Regions from separate parts of the Homo sapiens genome. Here region 1 is linked to region 2. The links are contacts of gene promoters, found by promoter capture Hi-C in blood cells and fetal thymus (Javierre and others, 2016). All regions are on one chromosome and are shown on one strand. Each heading gives the region's core, a stretch centred on a gene start or on the middle of the fragment in contact. The rest is flanking DNA. Distances are from core to core; before and after follow the strand shown. Region 1 has its middle 64 kb from the start of NEUROG2-AS1. Region 2 holds the start of MIR302CHG (miR-302/367 cluster host gene).

Evidence for each region. The method cuts DNA at HindIII sites, captures the fragments that hold promoters and counts their contacts. A CHiCAGO score of 5 or more calls a contact.
Region 1: a contact is called between a fragment that was not itself captured here and the fragment with the promoter of MIR302CHG in region 2, in 1 of 17 cell types (neutrophils). The highest score is 5.0, in neutrophils.

The regions. Positions count from the first base shown.
Region 1 is chr4:112,449,836-112,452,535 of GRCh38, reverse strand. No RefSeq gene overlaps it. Among named protein-coding and RNA genes, the nearest start is that of NEUROG2-AS1, 64 kb to the left of the region's middle. The HindIII fragment of the contact is 9,571 bases long and covers 1-2,700 here.
Region 2 is chr4:112,648,784-112,651,483 of GRCh38, reverse strand. It overlaps MIR302CHG (miR-302/367 cluster host gene), which reads left to right and starts at 1,433. Exons shown (of 3, transcript NR_146092.1): 1 at 1,433-1,492. LARP7 (La ribonucleoprotein 7, transcriptional regulator) reads right to left here. Exons shown (of 13, transcript NM_016648.4): 9 at 1,798-1,949; 10 at 902-1,023. RefSeq lists an enhancer at 1,891-2,613. The HindIII fragment of the contact is 6,288 bases long and covers 1-2,700 here.

The DNA.
Region 1 (2,700 bases), core at 59-2,558, 200 kb after region 2:
CTAATCTTGGCCGCCACAGTTGGTGAGAGTGGGACTGAATAAATGAATTCATCAGGACTACACCAGAAAAACAGCTGGGGTAATAATGACAATAAAACCCTATCTTTGTTTTGTTTTGTTTGAGAGGAAGTCTCGCTCTGTTGTCCAGGCTGGAGTGCAGTGGTGTGATCTTGGCTCACTGCAACCTCCGTCTCCCAGGTTCAAGCGATTCTCCTGCCTCAGCCCCTGAAGTAGCTGGGATTACAGGCATGTGCCACCACACCCAGCTAATTTTTGTATTTTTAGTAGAGACAAAAACCCTATCTTTGAACACCAAAGAGTGCCAGCCACTGTGCTAAGTCCTTCATAGGCATTACCTCTAATCCTCACAGCAAAACCCAGGTAGGGATTTTTATACTTGTTTTACATATGGGCACTCCAAGGCTGTAAAGAGGCCAGGCAACTTGCTCAGTGCCACTCTGCTAGTGAGCAGCAGAGCTGGGACTATTCCTGTCTGATTTCACCAGACACTCCCCTTCAAGGAGGCCTAGTGAGAGTGACTGCGGTAGAACTAGAGAGGACCTAATCACCAGCTGAGTCTAAAAACTATTGCCCTGAAAAGGAAAGACCTGAAAGTGAGTGAAGCCCCGTGAATTACTTCAGAGTGTCGGAATTCTTTGTTTCTAAATTTCAATTTTTTCTCCTTAGAAAGCGAGAAAGAGGAGAGTGTAGAAGATGGGGATGGGGCATAAAAGAGGCATTTGGGTAATATGGGGAGAAAAGTGAGCACCCACTCTTTCCTCCACATCCCTGCTGGCAGGGGATCAGCTGGGTCTAGAATTTAACTCTTTCTTTGCTGTGGCAAGAACAAAGTTCATTGTGCTTACCGAAGTCCTTCTCACCAACAGCTACATAACAGGGAGGAATATTGTGTGGCCATCATAGGACAAAAATATTTCACTTGATTTATTCCCCTAAAAGATTGCATGGGAAAGAAGTGTGATCAAGAAAATACAACTTTAAAACTGGAAACATGTTACTAAGGAAGTATTCTTAAACTTTGAAGTTAGACAACATTTTCATCACTTTGGGATGGTGGTCCGGTTGAGACCCTGAAGTTCCCGTAGTTTTGTCAACATGAAGCCACCCAGCATACCATAATACACAGTGGGAACAAAGCCTCTGGAGGCCCATGTGATCCACGAGCACAGTGTCTCATCTATTATCCAAGTGGTCTGTTCTAGAAACCATCTTTTGGGTGTGTTTTTTCATTTGTTTCTTCTGTCTCCCATGCTGAGAGTGATGACAAGGGTCATTTCTCGTTAATGTTGTGGACACTGCACTCAGAGTGACCTTTCTCACTGAGAAGCAGCCTTTCACAGTCTGGATTTTTAAACAGTTTCTCAAAAAAAGAAAAAAAAGTGAGTGTATTTCTTTAAAGATCACACTTTGCGTTTAGAGTTAGATGCCTGTAGCTCTCTCAGTCTTTCTGTAAGAAATATAATTTTGTTAGGGTCCGAAAGAGAAAATAACTCTAGGATTATTTTGCAGGAGCAAAAGAGAAGTAATTTTCAGCAAAGTGGAATATATCATTAATCTTTCCAGTGGAAAACATTATAGTAAATCAATAAATCACTTAGAAAGGTTTCTACTCCCTCCTGGCCATTCCATGGGTCTGTTGTGCCAACTTATAAAATGCTTCTTGGAAACAATATTTTCTTGATAACTGGAATGATTGTTACAATTTATAAAACATTAACTTTCCTAAAGTATATTTTTTAGTTATCTTTTTAGCATTTGAGCTACACTGTTGTTGGTGGATGTTCTGAGCATGGCATTTTTAGCACAAGGAGGTAAAGCAGTTGACAAATGCCAAAGGACCAATGCGCTTAACGCGTCTGGAGCTGTATCTCAATCTAATTTTTAAGTTATTGATGACAAAGTCTGGCCTTCTCTTGGCATCTGGAACAATTTGGAGCTGTCTGTTTCCCAATCATCAACTACTACGTAGCCACTAACTAGCAACAAAAATTTGTTATTGGCCTAAATAGGATGCATCTTAAACAATAGTCTTATTTGTGATTCTTTGCATTTCCCTCCTCCCCTCTCATAACCAAGAGTTGAGTGTAATAAAAGTTGATACTTGGCAATGCAGAGTTTTAGAGATGCCAAGTTTAATTCGCTTTTATAGGTTGTCTAAAGATGCTTAGGGATAGCTTTTTGTTGAGTGGGTGTTCCAGATCAGCTTAGACAGTGCAGACCATGCCACAGGGATGGAGGGAGGAAACAAGGCAGGAGGGGATGAAGTCAGGTCGATTCTGTGGCAGGTTATCAAGATCATGCTGAATAGTGGAGCTCTCTCTAATATCCAGCTCCTTCTCAGATCATCTTCCTTAATACTTGGCTCAACATCCTAGGACTTTGACATTTTCAGATGCCTTTGGCAGAACAATTTATAGTTTTGAGTCTTGGCACATGGCATATTTCAAAGACTTCCAGGGTCCATTGCTCTTAATCTTTATCTATACTCATGGAAAGATCCTGCTAACTTGTCTATAGTGGGGCAAAGGGGCCAGCCACTCAGATGCTTGTGTGCTGGCCTGGCCTGGCCTGGCTCCTCTGCACGAGCGTGCCCCAGAGGCTGGGGAAGGATACAGCTAGCCAGAGGATCCTGTCTCTCATCTCCCATCCTCTGATGCAGGTGGCTCAGTGACTGCTGTC
Region 2 (2,700 bases), core at 184-2,683:
TACATCCCTCAATTTTCAGCTGTCTCCTGAAATGCAAGCTGGTAATAGCAATTTGGATTTGGCCAAATCCTTCACCAACATTGCAAAGAGGATCAAAATTTGTTTCTTAGTGACAGCTATAGGATTGTAGGACAGTATTTCAGATAAGGAGGGCTTACAGATAAACAAACCACCACCTCAATGGTATTCAAGTTAAAACCTGTGACTGATGAGTCTACGTAAAACCAAAACAACATACTAAGTGATGATGAATGTCAGTATAAGAAAATACTTAAAATATGTGGTATGTTACAGAGCATTTCACACTTTTTAAAAAGAAAAGGATTCACTTAAATGGGTGACAGGCAGGGTAAGGGTAAATAAGATATGGTACTCTCACCTAAAAGTATATAATTTCCCTAATAGAAAGTATTGCTACCAATGTGGTATAAAAGGCTACAGAAGATAGACTGTATAAAGCGAAAAAATTATAAACCTGTATGTACAGCAATTTGTAGCGTAAATTATATAGAAGTATGGGTTTTTTGGCACATGCGTGAAAAATTTTAAGAGGTTTTCAAAAATATTTTACTTTTCTATAATTAAAATTTTAAAGATAATCAGCACATAGGTAATACAAAAAAAATCAGTGCCAATAAAAATAAGCAAAAGTTACAATTTTCCTATAGAGAAGGATGTTTAAACTGTGCTTACATATAGATTTAGTGAGGAATTTCAGCCTCTAGATTTTGCTTCAAAATTAAACCTAAGAGTTACCATGGAATTAAAACTGTACAGTAGTTTACCATAGGGAAACAAATTCTAACTTGATTTGTTTTATCTTCCATATTCAAAACATTTTCACACAGGGAAATAATAAGAGAAGAAAGGAACAAATACCCTAGGGGCTCAAAATCATTACCCGGACTTGTTTCCTGCCAGGTAGAGGCTCTGTGCTAATGATCTTCACAATCACTCCACTCACGAACTGTGGTCCTGTTGCATTAACTTTCTCCTGGGTGCGACACTCTTCCCTGTTGGCTGCTGATTAGAAAAGGAAAAAGACCAGGACTAAATCTCTTACACTTAACAACAATTTAATACTTAGGAGGACTACCTTAGAATAATTCCTGAGGCAGATTTAAATAATTTAAAACGTATTTAATTTTAAAGTAAACAATTAAAGGTTATATGTCATACTGCTTATTTCAAAATACCATGAATAAAACTCAGAAAGTTTTATTATTCTACATGCAAATTGTTACTGCTAGAAGAGCATTCGTAAAGCCTTTAAATTTGCCCCTTCTCCCTGAACAAAGGAACAGTAAATTTTTACTCAATAAAGTTAAAAAAAAGTTAAAGGATACTGTGTTTTAAATACATTATTATTCAAACGTGAACATTTATTTTTACAAGAAATGAGAATTTAAAATGTATCCTAATTTTGAATTCATAGGAATTCTGCTTTAACTTGTTCCTGCTTGTGGTGCATACTACAGAATGAAATTAACAGGTGAGAAACTACAATCTTCATTCCTACAAACTTGCTCAGTCTGCAAACTCTGCACTCATGTGCTTGATGAAAACTGTAGAGAAAACTCAGGTTATTTAAAAAATTGTTTTAAATGAGCCTTTTAAATATTCTTATATCAAGAGTAAGTAACACATCTGGATAACTTAACAAATCAAGAATTGTTCTAATAATGAAATAGAATAATCAAGTTTTTTAAAATTAAAATTTATCTTATAACAACTCAGAGATAGCATTTACATATATAAGTACATTATAATGTTGTCAAAACTATCAGTGATCTTTACTTTTTTCATTTTTCATTCCAGTGTTTTGAGGTACTCCACTGTCTGTTTCCATTTCTGACTCTGATTTTATTTGGGATATTGTTTTTTTTAAAGAAGCCATGCTAGCTTTTTGTAGCGCTAAATACTCTTTTTTCAAATCCATCCATTCGCTCCTACAAGGAAAGAAATGGTGATAACAGATGACTAAATATAAAAAGTAAATAGGGAAATATCTAAATATATACATTCACAATGACTTGGAGCAACTCCTCCACCAACTTTCCTGTTTCTTTAAACACATATTCAAAATATTTCCTAGGTTCTAAAGACATTTAGCAAAATAAGCTAAGGGAGTTCCTCTTCCCCCAATATTCAGATTAAATGTTTTAAGATTGCCAATTAAATTTTTGAGTGTCTGAAGTATTTTAATTTATAAAAGTAAAATTTTAGCATTAATTCCTTAACTAGTAACATTTACTAAATCAGTCATCTCTGTGGGAAAAGGGCGAGATTAAAGATTTGTTAAACTGCTTCCAATTTGAGAGATAACATTCCTTAGTATTTACTTGAATCAAAAAGAATTTCTAAGTAGAACAAAACACCCCGTGGAAGCAATCTATTTATTTACATACATTTAACATGTAGATGCTTCTTCAAACAGAGTTCCTCCAGATAGAAACACAATGCCTTTCTCGGCTCAGTGGGAGCACTCATTGTTACCCTAATCTATGCCATCAAACAAGCAGATAGGAGATTTTCTTTTTCTTTTTCTTTTTTTTTTTTAAGAGGAAGATATCTTGTGGTAATGGTTTTAGCTGTTAACATTGACATCTGTATACTTCAAAAAAAAAAAAAAGGATCCAGACCCACCCAGGATCATACATTCCCTGAGAGCTGATACATTAAAATAACAAAAGGCCCTTG